2 separate regions of the Homo sapiens genome follow, and region 2 is linked to region 1. Evidence: promoter capture Hi-C in human tissues and cell types (Jung and others, 2019). All regions are on one chromosome and are shown on one strand. The core of a region is centred on a gene start or on the middle of the fragment in contact, and the rest is flanking DNA. Distances in the headings are between cores, read along the strand shown. Region 1 holds the start of RAB7A (RAB7A, member RAS oncogene family). Region 2 overlaps COPG1 (coat protein complex I subunit gamma 1).

What was found. Contacts are between HindIII fragments. The study calls those that stand out against the background at their distance.
Region 2: a fragment that was not itself captured here is called in contact with the fragment with the promoter of RAB7A in region 1 in 1 of the 25 tissues and cell types used here (pancreas).

The regions. Positions count from the first base shown.
Region 1 is chr3:128,722,596-128,729,871 of GRCh38, forward strand. RAB7A (RAB7A, member RAS oncogene family) reads left to right here and starts at 3,588. Exons shown (of 6, transcript NM_004637.6): 1 at 3,588-3,764. RefSeq lists enhancers at 3,312-3,441, 3,471-4,455 and a silencer at 3,722-4,011. The HindIII fragment of the contact is 11,719 bases long and covers 1-5,060 here.
Region 2 is chr3:129,271,496-129,278,771 of GRCh38, forward strand. COPG1 (coat protein complex I subunit gamma 1) reads left to right here. Exons shown (of 24, transcript NM_016128.4): 19 at 272-414; 20 at 749-920; 21 at 1,312-1,409; 22 at 3,343-3,481; 23 at 3,699-3,797; 24 at 5,799-6,278. The coding sequence ends at 5,929. It overlaps MIR6826 (microRNA 6826), which reads left to right and starts at 651; the gene lies at 651-748. RefSeq lists a silencer at 7,230-7,276. The HindIII fragment of the contact is 3,597 bases long and covers 2,989-6,585 here.

The DNA.
Region 1 (7,276 bases), core at 2,338-4,837:
TGGGTGGAGGCTGCAATGAGCTGATAGCACCTCTGCACTCCAGCCTAGGCGACAGAGCAAAACTCTGTCTCAAAAAAAAAAAAAAAAAAAAGAAATGTGATTCCTCAGTGTGGAGATTTGGGAGGTGGGGCCTAGTTGGGGGTATTTGAGTTGTGGGGGGGTTCCCTCATGAATAGTTTGGTGCCATTCTAGGTAGTGAGTGAGTGAGTGAGTTCTGGCTCTGGTGAGGCTGGATGAGTTCTCACAGGAATTGATTAGTTCCCAAGAGAGTAGGTTGTGCTAAAGCCAAGATGTCCCTTGGATTTGGGCTGGGATTTCAGGCACGTGCCACAGCGCCCGGCTAATTTTTGTATTTTTAGTAGAGACGGGGTTTCACCATGTTGGTCAGGCTGGTAAAGACCAAAACACTTCTAATATTAAATATTAAAGTAAATGTGAACTATATATATATTTAAGACAGATTAATGAAAATGAGCAAGATAATTATTTATCCAATTATTCCATCTCAGGGTCACAGGTGGCCAGTCTATCCTGGCAGCTCAGGACAGGAACCAACCCTGCACAGGATGCCAGCCCATTGTGTACACGTGTGCGCACGTGCACACACACACACACACACACACACAGAGACTGGGACAATTCAGACAAGCCAATTCACCTAAAGGGCACATCTTTGGGATGTGGGAGGAAACCAGAGGAACCAAGGAAAACTCAGACATGGGGAAAGAGTGTAAACTACACAGACAGGGGCCCCAGCCAGGAATCAATTTTTTCTCATCAATGTTATAATTGAAATGATGTTACTGGAGGCCCTGCTCTACTTAACTCCCCCAAGAACCCTAAAAGTCTCAATCCCAATACATCACTGGCTCATAATGGATCTTGCCATGTAAATTGGGTCCAGATGTGGATGAGGTTCCTCAGATATAATTCCTTAAGAACGGCTCTGAGCACTGTTCCTCTGAAGGCCTGTGAGCTAGAGATGTTATCTGCTGTCCACGGACCCAGCATACAGAGTTGGCAAGAAGAAGATAAGCATAGTAGACACTTTTGTTCAAAAGGGGAAAAAACAGGAGCGACAGCTGCCACTGGGTCATAGTAATTCTGAAATCAGCGAGGCACGTGATGCCAGTTCCTTGATTCGAGTCCCCTCCTGCTCCTTGGGAATGATTATCTGCAGCTCCTGGCTCTATCCTCTTGGCTCATGGGTTTCTTCTAAGTTGTCCTTTCTTTCCCATAGGAAATAGTCCATGTTTGCATCTGAATAGCCTTCTCAGAAGGCTTCTTAGAAGGCTGGGGCCCACATGTCCCATTTTATTTTTGTGCTCTGCCTTTTCTGGTATAATTGTCCCTTGCTATTTGTGGTGGATTGGTTCTAGGACTCAGATGCTCAAATCCTGCAGTCAGCCCTGCCAAACCTGGGGATGAGGACTACTGCATTCCCAGTTGCTACTTTACCTTCAAACCTAGCATTTTGATTGGCTGCCTAACGGGGTGGAATTATCATAACTCTTGGCCTTTGAAACTATTTTCAGTTTTCATTCCCCTGAATACTCTGCAAATTGTACACATTGAGCACCTACTGTACCCCAACACTGTTTCAAGAATCAGGGATATCGCAGTGAATGAGACAGACAAAAATAGCTGCCTTGTGGAGCTGCCATTCTAGTGGGGAAGACAGACAATATGCAAATAAGTGAGTAGTATAAGAGGAAAAACTTTGGGAGGCTGAGTCGGGAGGATTACTTGACACCATTACTTGACACCAGGAGTTCAAGACTGCCTGGGTAACATAGTGAAAACTTCTCTTTACAAAAAAAAAAAAAAAATTAGCCAGCCATAGTGGTGCACGCCTGTGGTCTCAGCTACTCAGGAGGCTGAGACAGGAGGATCACTTGAGCCCAGAAGTTCAAGGCTGCAGTAAGCCCTGATTATGCCACTGCACTCCAGCATGGGCAACAGAGCAAGAACTTTTCTCAAAAAAAAAAAAAAGAAAAAGAAAATAAAAAAGAAAAAACAGAGGAGAAAAGCAGTAGGGAGATGTCAATTTTTGTGTTTGTATTGTGGTGACAGGGAGAGGGACTTCAGTTTTAAATAGGGAAGGCTATTTCACTGAAAAGGTTACTTTAAAGTCAAGACCAGAGGAAAGTGAGGGAGTGGCCAAGCAGATACCTGGAGGAAGAGCTTTCCAGGTAGAGAGAAGTACAACTGCAGAGGTCTGATGTAGATGTGTGCCTTCTCTTTTCTTTTTTGTTTATCTTTTGGAAGAGACAGTCTTGTTATGTTGCCCAAGCTGGTCTTGAACTCCTGGGCACATGCAAAGTGAAAGCAGAGAAAGAGTGGACTTACCCCAGAGGCGGATGGTTCTGCAGTGTGCAAGGCCATTTCAGAATACACATAGAGAAAACAGGAGAATAGGTGGTGAGGGTTTTGGGGAAAGAGCCAATTTTGGTTGAAAAAGTAGGGGAAACCCCAGACATTGTACCATCTCAGGGTTGAGACTGCTTGCCTAGCTTTTGAGATTTTTTTTTTCCCCAGACCCCTCAACTCCTGAGATCTTATCGGGAAGCTGCTGATCACCAGTTTTAGGTGTTTTTATCTATTGGGAGACTGCCTTTCTCTGGTCTGGCTGCAACCAATTATTATTTTAGAGAGACAGCTTAACCTGACAACCACGTCATGGTTGCCTCACATTGCTGGTCGGGGAGTGGCCCCTCTCCTGCCCTGCTCAGGTCTGACTACTTACTGTAACAATTGCAAGGTTTTTGGATGGAACAATTGAAAGAATGGAGCTTGCATGAACCAAAATAAGAAAAGACTATGAGAGGGCATTGTTGAAGATGGAGGCAAAAATTCTGAGTGGATCCTGATGTGTTCGGATGGGGCTGGTGCTTGGGAGGCTGCTCTGTGCTTACAAGAAGAGTTCTACCCGGTCCATCTTTATCACATCTTCTCTAATACTAAGTTCAGAGAGGCTTTAGCTCATTTTCCATTTTCTTGGGCTGTCTCCTCTGCCAGACAAAGTGCCTATTTCTCCTGTCTCTATCACCGAGCCACACAATTGCTGTAGTCATTTGCAGTCTACTAGAACGATAACACATATTGGCATCAGACAGATCTTGGTTCAAAACCTCGCTCCACCAGTTTCTGTGTTGAGCTAGACCAAGTGACATGATATACTGAGTCTCAGTTCCTTATTTGTAAAATGGTGATAATAATTTTTGGTTAAGTAATTAAAGTAAGGATAAATGATGCCTTTCGAAGAAGGACACAACTGGAATGGCCAGTTTACCCCTTGTCCCCTCTTCGGTGGCATTATTTATTCTGGAGTAAGGAGGGATGGCTGAGGGAATCTGTCTGTGGGTCCAACATGGCGCCGTCCTGCTCCTTGTATGAGCCTCAAAGATGGGGACAACCATTTGGGGGCAGACATGTTTGTAGCACGAGATCCAGGCTCAGTCCCGAGGCAGCCGGAACGTGACGCAAGGTTGAGGCGGGGCTCCTCCCCCGCACCCTGGCGTCGAGCGTCTCGTGACAGGTACTTCCGCTCGGGGCGGCGGCGGTGGCGGAAGTGGGAGCGGGCCTGGAGTCTTGGCCATAAAGCCTGAGGCGGCGGCAGCGGCGGAGTTGGCGGCTTGGAGAGCTCGGGAGAGTTCCCTGGAACCAGAACTTGGACCTTCTCGCTTCTGTCCTCCGTTTAGTCTCCTCCTCGGCGGGAGCCCTCGCGACGCGCCCGGCCCGGAGCCCCCAGCGCAGCGGCCGCGGTAAGCAGCGGGCCCAGCCCGGCCGGCGGCCTGGCCCCATCCCCCCCCTCAGCCCCTCGGTCGCCAGGGCCTCGCGTCCTCCCTGTCCTCCTGGGCAGGCTCCAGTCCCAGCCCTGGCCACGCGGGCACACCCGGCATCGCTCAGGCCCCCGGAGCAGGCCAAGACCCCACCCGGCTTGGAGAGGTCGGAGGTCGTCGGGCGTGACCTCTGGCCGGGTTGCCCGCCCCGGCCACCCGTCTCGGACGCTCTGTTTACTGTTGGCCTGGATCTCAGAGACCCGAGAGGGTTCCTTGACTTGGGCGGCCCTGCGCCGCGGCAGGACGCGCTGGCCAGTGGAGTTCCTTAGCGCGGCGAGCAGGAGGGTGTCAGAGCCCACGCCGCCCGCCGCCGTGCCCACCCGGCGGGCATGGGTCACAGGCGCTGGGGGCCGAGCCGCGTTCCCATCCGGTTCTTCAGTTGAACAGCCTGACCCTGTTAGTGGGAGTTCCCTGACGGCAACTGAGTCAAGGCAGTGAGTCAGGTCACGTGCGCTGGGCTCGCCTCGACACTTGTGTACATTGAGGCGCCTCTGGCGCTGGGAGACAGGGAGCTTTTTGTCCTAGGCATGTTACGGTAAATCCTGAGAGAAGTTTTTCAACTTAATCGAGGAAAGATGGTAGTTGGATGTAGAGTTGTGTTTCCATTCCGACCGTGTTTGGGGCCTCTTTCTGCATTCATTTTAGGCTTGATACCTAATGGGGTCATAAGGGGAATATTGAGAATATTGACAGCAAATATTTGAGCGTTTATTGTATGCTAGGCAGCGTGGCAAGACCTTTTAACAGATCATTATGTTTAGTTCTTTGAACAACCCTCTGAAGTACCACTGTTGTGCCCACTTAACACAGTGGGAAGTTGAACAGAGAGGCTAAGCCATTTGGCCAAGGTCACACAGCTAATAAGTTACGAAGCAGAGATGCAAGCCCAGGCAGTCAGACTCCAGAGCACTGTATTAAATTTCTAGGTTGTACTGCTTTCACGTACCCCTGAAGCTTGCTGGTTTATCTTTTGCTACCTGGTATCTGTACCTCAGTGCCTCCCACCACCTCCTTTCTTTCTATTGATGTCATTTGAAAGTCTTTCTGGTAGCATCAGTTCTCCCTTAAAGCCATAAGAAATGCCGTTTGCGACTTATCACACATATTGTGGTGTAGTGTCACCGAATTAGGAGCTCTTGAATACCGGCAGGGTACTTAACTGAGGTTTGAAAAATTTTGCAGGTAGGCCTGGCAAACCTGCCTAGTGAACCTTTCTTACAACCTTAGTTGATGGCTGTCCAGCCGGCTGGTTCTTCCCTATTCAAAATACTGCATCTTTGGTTTCCTAAAGAACGGACTCTTGTCTCTTTCTTGTGACTTAAGCAGCTGATGAAGCACATGATTTCTCATCCATGGATGAATAAAGTCTCCTCTTAGTGTGTTTCTCTCTTCAAACTTGGGAAGGTTTGTTCAGATTTGAGTTTAAGGACTGGAAGGTGAGTTAGGAGTACTTCTTCTGAAGAAGGGACCGGCTAAGTTAAAGCTTAGCGTTCACAATCCTGTTGTATTCATATTTGTCTTTTTTTTTTTTAACTTTGCTACCTAGCCTAAAATATTTAAGTGAGTAATAAGTACTGTGGCTTTATATAATGTTTGAGTTTAGAGTAATGATAGGCACCTTTTTATTCATTCATTAAGTATTTTGAGTATCCATTGAGTATCAGCAATGTATCAGGCATTGTGGGACATTGACTCAGGGAGATAGGCGTGGTTCCTGTCCTCAAGGAATTTTTAAAAGGTGAATGATCTTGGCCAGAAATTCTGTTGTGGAATAATTTGGCGGTAGAACTTGAGGCTTTTTGGAAAGAGTTATTTCTCATCTCTGCTGGTGAATCAGTAGTAACCCAAAGGATGGTGTTCTTCTGGCTAACTTTAAGGCTTTGTTAATTTTAACAACAGCATTTGTATGGTTTGCTCTTCAGAGAGTGTAGAAGATAATATTACAGTTTCTAATTAATCACATCTTTTAAAGAGTAACCTTCAACACTCAACTTGTTTCTCCTTTTGCTCTAGTGGCATTTATTTTATTTTATTTATATTTTGAGACGGAGTTTCCCTCTTGTTGCCCAGGCTAGAGTGCAATAGCGCGATGTCGGCTCACTGCAACCTCTGCCTCCCGGGTTCAAGCCATTCTCCTGCCTCAGCCTCCCGAGTGGCTGGAATTACAGGCATGCGCCACCATGCCCAGCTAATCTTGTATTTTTAGTAGAGACAGGTTTTCTCCATGTTGGTCAGGCTGGTCTCGAACTGCCTACCTCAGGTGATCCGCCTGTCTCGGCCTCCGAAAAGTGCTGGGATTACAGGCATGAGCCACTGCGCCCGGCCGACTCTGGTAGCATTTTTTTGTTCACTCAAGAGGTAGTCCATGTCACTACTGTAATTACCTTGCACTGCCATGTCTTTGAGCAAAGGTACATTTGGCATGCTGGATTTTTTTCTTCAGCTGGCAAGAAAGTTTAATGTAGCACTGATAGTGTACTGGCCATAGTTTCAGTACCATTCTACATAGAAAAGCTGTGTTACCCTATCTCCCACAACTTTCTAGATTCCCTTCTTTAAGGGAAGATTTGGATTTTACATTTGTGGTAGAACTGCATAAGTAAACAGAGGGTGGAATGTAGAAGATAGTCTAAAAATAGTTTTATTAGTATATCCTTCTAGGTAGTTAGCAACCACTTGGGGCAATTTTTTTTAAAATTTTTTTTTAGTGCCAACTGTGTCTAAGCTCACCAACCCTGTAATCAGAGAACAACTCTTTATAGTAAAGTGTGGCTTTGAATCAGTTTTCTGACCCCACTGCCAAGTGAAGCCAAAAAATTTTGGTTATTTGATTAGCTTTTAATATGTCTTCAGCTGGGCACGGTGGCTCACGCCTGTAATCCCAGCACTTTGGGAGGCCGAGGCAGGTGGATCATGAGGTCAGGAGATCGAGACCATCCTGGCTAACACAGTGAAACCCCATCTCTACTAAAAATACAAAAAATTAGCCGGGCGTGGTGGCGGGCGCCTGTAGTCCCAGCTACTCGTGAGGCTGAGGCAGGAGAATGGCGTGAACCCAGGAGGCAGGGCTTGCAGTGAGCAGAGATCATGCCGCTGCACTCCAGCCTGGGCGACAGAGCGAGACTTCTTCTCAAAAAAAAAAAAAAAAAAAGTCTTCAAAGGGATCTTCACTAATAACGTTTTTGCTCTTACTTTGGCATTAGACTTTGTAAACAAAGATGTAGCAAACACAGACCACGCAAATATGACAGTTGTCTTATGCACATTCCTCTCTGGCATTTGACACAAATATTTTAGTTTTTCCTATGATAAAGTATTTATCTCCCCATTCATTTAATTCAACAAATACAGCTGAGATAGATTTGACCAGATGTTGGACTTGGAGCTGTAGGCAGGCTTTTCCTGGGGAGGTAAGGATTAGAAGTCCTCCTGAA
Region 2 (7,276 bases), core at 3,537-6,036, 550 kb after region 1:
GGTCTCATATCAGTTTTTTGCTTCTGAGGTCTTTCATGGTACAGAGATGGGGAGAGTATTTGTGGGGGGTTGTGCCACATGAGCGAAGTCAGGGAGATGAGAAAATGCATGGATATATTCAGGAAATAATGAGTAGCCAGTTGGGTAAACATATCTATCCATCTAAGGTAGGGTGGAACACCTTGAGAATGGTCATGGGAATTTATTAGAAACCATCAACAAGTTGGTCTGGGGATCGAGAAGCTGAGTGAATGTGGCCTGTGGATTTCAGAGCAGTTGGCAGCAGTGCCAGAGTTCCGCGGTCTTGGGCCCCTCTTCAAGTCCTCGCCTGAGCCCGTGGCCCTCACCGAGTCAGAGACGGAGTATGTCATCCGCTGCACCAAACACACCTTCACCAACCACATGGTTTTTCAGGTGAGCAAGGTGGGCTGAGGCCCTGCTGGGGCATGCGCCCAGGGAGTTGTCCCAGGTCTGGCAGGTCCTGTAGGGTCATGGGTCCCCACACTGCATTGGTTGGGAGCCCAACTTGATGACAGAATCTGTCCCCAACAGGTCGGTCTCTCATATCTCTTGACTCGGGACATCCATGGCTCCCGATTGTCAGCATGAAGACAGGGAACCTGGGGCAGGGGGACTGGGATGGGAATCACCTTGGTCAATAGGAAAGAGGTGGGACCTCCTGGCTTTTCCTCTGCAGCATGGCTCGGACCTAGTGCAATGTTTAAGCTCCCCTCTCTTTCCTGTTCAGTTTGACTGCACAAACACACTCAATGACCAGACCTTGGAGAATGTCACAGTGCAGATGGAGCCCACTGAGGCCTATGAGGTGCTCTGTTACGTGCCTGCCCGGAGCCTGCCCTACAACCAGCCCGGGACCTGCTACACACTGGTGGCACTGCCCAAAGAAGACCCCACAGCTGGTGAGCCCCTCTCCAGATACCACCCTATCCTCCTGGGAGCTCATGGGGTCAGGAGGAGGTGGGCGGCTGGGCACCAGCTGTTTGCCTTCTATTAGAGCTTCAGCTCCTTGATTTCAGTCCCAAGAAGAAGAATAGCTGAGTCCCAAGTGCTCTTCTTTAAAAATTTTTTTTTTTAAAGAGACAGGATCTCACTAGAACTCATGACTTTCCTGTCCTACAAGGTGGCACCCTCTGTCCAGCTTTGTGGGATTGGATGGCTTGTTGCTGCTACTAATAACATAGCAGGGGCCTAGAAAGCAGGCTGTGACCCCTGCCTGCTTGTCCCCTGCAGGAGGAGCCCATCCCCTGCAGGCTGGGGACATCCTAACTACCCAGCCTCTCTTCCCCACAGTGGCCTGCACATTCAGCTGCATGATGAAGTTCACTGTCAAGGACTGTGATCCCACCACTGGGGAGACTGATGACGAAGGCTATGAGGATGAGTATGTGGTAAGATCCTGGTGTCAGGAAGCTCAGTTTTGTGCTGAGGCTGCAAAGCAACTCCCTTCAGGAACTGACAGTGAGACTGGAGCTGTTTTTGGCTTTTTAGCTCTTTAAAATTTTATTTTTTTATTTTTATTTTTTGAGATGAAGTTTCTCTTTTGTTACCCAGGCTGGAGTGCAGTGGCGCGATCTCGGCTCACTGCAACCTCTGTCTCCCTGGTCCAAGCGATTCTCTTGCCTCAGCCTCCCAAGTAGCTGGGATTACAGGCGCCCACCACCATGCCTGCCAAATTTTTTGTATTTTTGGTAGAGATAGGGTTTCACCATGTTGGCTAGGCTGGTCGCGATCTCCTCACCTCAGGTGATCCACCTACCTTGGCCTCCCAAAGTGTTGGGATTACAGGCGTGAGCCACCGCGCCCGGCCTAAAATAACTTTTTAAACTTATGGAAATACATGTTCATGTGTAAAAAGAAAACTTGGGAAATACAAAAACAAAATTCAAAACAAAGTATGAACAACAGGAAAACATTACTCATAATCCTTAGAGTTATTTTTGGGGGGAAGTGGTATAATTGAAATCATTCTTACAGTGTAGACCTTGCTATTTTAAAACCATAGTGTATTTTCCAGTATCATTACAAATACTTCATAAACACAATTTTTTTAGTGGATTTAAAATACTGTTATATACTATGTCAAAACTTGATTGACTTTTCACTCCTTTAATGTTGGGCATTTGGGTTTCCATATTTTCACTATTTATATTGCTGCATTAAATATCCCTTTAGATACAAATTTTTATCTGCATTTTAGATTATTTCTTTAGGATAGATTCCTAGAAGGAGAATAGTTGGGTCAAAGGGTAAGCATGATTTTAAGACATTTTGATTCCTCTTGTCAAATGCTTTCTGGATAAATTTGACCTGTTTGCTGTGCTGGGCAGTCCTTTCATGCACTGGAATAGCCCTTCTAAATTCTCCTATCTTAGCTCGGTGGAACTAAGTACAGGATCCTTCTGAGGTCTGACTTTGGGGCAGTGGCTCAGGGCCATCTGAGTGCAGACCATTATGCTCAGCCTGTGGATGGGGACTGTTAGAACTCCTCCTGACTAGAGGGACAGTCACAGTGGAATACAACTGACATTCGCCATTGTGTCATCCTAGAGTCACAGTTGAGGATGGATGGACCTTCCTTGAGCTGGAAATGACCCCGAGGCAGGAGCTGCTCTAAGACCAAGTGAGCTCCTTGAGAGAGCTGGGTCTGTTTGAGCCCATCCAGAGATGAAGAAAAAAAAAAAAGAGAGAGAGAGCTGGGTCTAAGTTGTATTTATATACACTGTAAACATCCACAGGAGTAGGGCCTCAGTGAAAATCTGATGGGAGAATGAATGGGGAACCTTCATGTAGACTCAGTGGGAGTATTATGTGTCAAGTTCAGGGAAGACACAGCTGAAATGGAGATAGAGATTCAGGATCTGTCAAATCCAGAGGACACAGCTGGGGTAGGAGGTTTCTGCTAGTTTCTGCTGAACTAGAAACAGCTGCTGGTCCTGAAGAGCTCATCATCCCCTAGGAGGGACAGGCATAGGAAGCAGACCTCTGAGAATGCTATGTAATTCCCTGCATGCCAGGTCCTGGAAGCACTGACACTAGGCAGGCTTAGAAGAGATGTGATCTCACAGCAGGCGGCTCTAGGCTGAATTAGTAGATTGGTACTTGGGATTAGGGCGTTTTCTGTTGAAGGGATACCATTTGCCTTTGGGCACCTCAAGGATAGGTACCTGGTCAAGTTGCTCTATGTCCCCAGAGTCTAGCACAGTCCTCAGTGCCGAGCAAGCACCTGTGGAAAGAGTTGCAGGAAGGGATGTGTGGATGAGTTCAGAGCAGAGGCCCGTAGGTGTGTAGATGGGTGCCTGATTTCTACCTCCATCTCTCCAGCTGGAAGATCTGGAAGTTACTGTAGCTGATCACATTCAAAAGGTCATGAAACTGAACTTCGAAGCAGCCTGGGATGAGGTAGGGGATGAATTTGAGAAGGAGGAAACGTTCACCTTGTCTACCATCAAGACACTTGAAGGTAAAATCCTGGGAATGCCATCTCTGGCCTAATTACTGTTCAAGATCTTTGGCTACTATTGAAGTGCTCATCCCTTTTCTCTCCAAGGATCCAGGGCCATGTCTGGAGCACATATGTCAAATGCCACTTCATTAAAAGCCCTTCAGAACATGGGGGAGTGGTGGTGGCACAAAGGGCAGATAAGATGGCTTAACAATATTGGGATTTCTCATTACAGAGGCTGTGGGTAATATTGTGAAGTTCTTGGGAATGCACCCTTGTGAGAGGTCAGACAAAGTGCCGGATAACAAGAACACCCACACGTTGCTCCTGGCTGGTAAGTGGCATTTCTAGATGGGGAGGGCCTGGATAGCTTACAGCCTGGATGCCACTGGATCCTGGGCTAAGGACTCCACTGTAAATATGGGGAGTCAAAATTCACAGCATTTAAAATTCACAAAGTATAAAATAATCTGCAGCGAAATGTTTCCTCCCTACCTTGGCTGCCAGCCATTCAGATTCCCTTCCGAGAAGCGACCAGTGTTACTATTACAAACAATACTTGTATAACCTTGCGGTTATTTTATGGCTATAAAAGCTAATAGGAACGCATTTCCTTTTTTTAACTCAAATGTTTATGTACAAATGGTATATATATTGTCCTCCGATTTGCTTTTCACTTTACATTGCATCTTAGAGATCTTCCCCGTCAATATGTAGAGCTTCCTCATTCTTTTTCTTTTAATTGTGGTAAAATATACATAAAATTCACCATTTCGACCATTTTCAAGTGTATGGTTCAGCGGCATTAAGTACATTCACACTATTGTAAAACTATGACCACCATCCATCTCCAGAACTTTTTTCATCCCAAACTGAATCCTCATTTTTTTTATAGTTGCTTAGTATTCCATTGTGTGGATGCACCACATATTCTATGGAACAGCCACTACTGATGAACATTTAGTTTGATTTCAATCTCTTGCTATTACAGATGTTACAGTAAATAATCGTGTACACACACACACACACACACACACACAGTTTACTTTGCATGTGTACACTGAGAATATCTGTAGGATAAATTTTCCAAGGCATCACCAGTTCAAAGTGATTTGTGTTTCTCATCTTGATAAATAACTCCAAGTTGCCTTCCATAGAATTGTATACCTTTCTTCCTACACTGTGGACAACATAATATGTTACCACACTTTATGATCTTTTCCAGTCTGTGTGGACAATGATATCTTAGTGTAGTTTTTGTATTTTCAATGAAGTTAAGTATCTTCTTAAATGTTGAGGCATTTGTATTTCCTTTTCTGATCATTGTCTTCATATCCTTTGTCTTATTTTCTACAGGGTTGGCTGAGTGTACCCACACTCATTCTCCTTCCCAGATTATTTACTAGCAAACTCCAGAAATAGCATTTTATATGTAAATCCTGTATCTGTATGTTTCTCTAAGAGAGAATGACCCCTTCCCTTTTTTAAAGGACAATACAATTATCATACCTAAAACAGTTAACAAAAGGAAATGGGATGATTTTTTTTGGCTGAGTGTTTATAAACAGGGTTGAAAGGAGGCTCTGCTTCAGTACCCTGCCTACAGCTGACAGTTTGTAGCCACATTGAAACAACCTAGTCCCCTGGGTCTTGCAGACACCTGCCCTGTGGTTTTCTCGTGGTGGGGCTGTCCCCTTCATTTGTGCTCTCAGATTCAGTCAACGTGCAAGAGCCTCTGTGACATGAGATATAAGCCTTTTATGTCCATCAGTTCATTTGAACTTAGCAGAAGCCTGAAATATGGTATTATCATCCCTGCCACTTTGTAGTTGAGGATACTGAAGTCCTGAGAGACAGTGACTTTCTTTTTTTTTTTTTTTTTTGAGACGGAGTCTAGCTCTGTCACCCAGGCTGGCATGCAGTGGCACAATCTCTGCTCGCTGCAACCTCCGCCTCCCGGGTTCAAGCGATTCTCCTGCTTCAGCCTCCCGAGTAGCTGGGATTACAGGCGTCCACCACCATGCCCAGCTAATTTTCGTATTTTTAGTAGAGATGGGGTTTCACTGTGTTGGCCAGGCTGGTCTCGAATTCCTGACCTCATGATCTGCCCACCTCAGCCTCCCAAAGTGCTGGAATTACAAGCGTGAGCCACCGCGCCTGGCTGAGAGACAGTGACTTTCACAGTGAAATCCCTCACTCAGGGATTTCAGCCCAGCTCTCCTGCCCGTTTCACTACACCAGAGCTGCCTTCATGGGTTGCTGCAAATGCCATCCTTAGCCTGCCCTGTACAGTCCCTTCTGCTGTATATATCTGTACTTCTCTCTTCCCTTCTAGGTGTGTTCCGGGGTGGTCATGACATCCTGGTGCGCTCCCGGCTGCTGCTTTTGGACACAGTGACAATGCAGGTGACAGCCAGAAGTTTGGAGGAGCTGCCAGTAGACATCATCTTGGCATCTGTGGGATAAGAGGCCAGCCTGCATAGGACCTCATACCCTTCCCCAACACTACCTGGAAGTTGTGCCTTCCTCATGAAACTGGCAGAAACCCCTTCCCAAGCTTCTGTATTGAAAAACAATTAGGAATCATTGCAGATTTTTTTTTATTCTGCTCCCACCTCCCACCCGGGACTACTTGCTGGTGACTTTTTTTTTTTTTTTTTTTAAATAGGGGATGATTTTAGCTTGTCCTAAATCTTGCTGTCCACCCTTCCAGGAAAGGGACATTGTAAATGAATAAAACATTCTCAACTCCTCTTGAATCTATCCCCCAAGAAACCATCTTATCCCTGTAATAAATCAGCATGTATTTATTGAATGATTGCTACTTCTGCAGACTCATGCTTCAGGGCTCCACCTTCCCCTTCAAGGCCTCCCCTAAAGAGGCAGAACACCTGCCCTGTCCCCCTTGCACCCACAGCCCTTTGGCTGTTGTAGTCCTGTGAGGCAGGACCCTCTCCCCGTCATCGCTGTCCCAGCACCAAGCCCAGGGGTGGGAGCGGTAGAGGGTGGTTGAGTGAATCAGCTAACAGGCAGAGTTCACACTCCCTCCCGTTCGTGCTTCTTCACAACGCATCCTCCTTTGATAGTCGATAAATGGAGGCTCCAAAGGGCTTGGGTCCTGTGTCTGATCGTTCCAGCATCTGGTCTTACATGGAGTGTGCCCTGGGGTTTCTGCTCCCTGTTCAGTTCAGCGAATCAGCATAGGCGAACAGCCCTCTAGAGCATTCTCTGTTGGTTGCAGATGAAGAATCTCCGGTTTAGGTCCCAAGGGGAGCAGGCTTTTAAACTCAAGCCAGGCTATTTTACCAACTTTGAGGCCAAAGTACACCCGAAAGGGCTGTTTTAAAAATCTGGGCCTCACCCTTAGAGATTCAGCTGAGGGGCTGGGGCAGGAAAGGCTTATTCTAGTGCCCACCAATGTTTGAGGGCGAAGTGCGCGATTCCTGGAAGTTCTTCTGACTTTCATTTCTTCAGTGTTCCTCCATTTTTGCCTCGCACTGTGAGGCAGCTGGCAGGACTGTGAAGTAAGGAGTGGAGTTTCCTGGTTTCCCGCCTTCCATGACCCTGTGCCCTAGACTCAGCGCGGCGGGAACCTTCCCTGCCAGCCCTGAAACACGCTGGGGGCGGGGAGGAAGGTTAACCCCGCCAGGGAACGGCCAATATGGAGGAAAGTGGAGTCCCGAGAAGCTTGGGATCGATATGTCTCCCAAGGCAGTCACTGTCTCCTGGGGAAACGGGAGAAAATTCATCCCAAACCGGAGGGGAGAAGACGCCGCCTCCGGGGCCCGAGGGCACCGCGGGAACCAAGGGCCC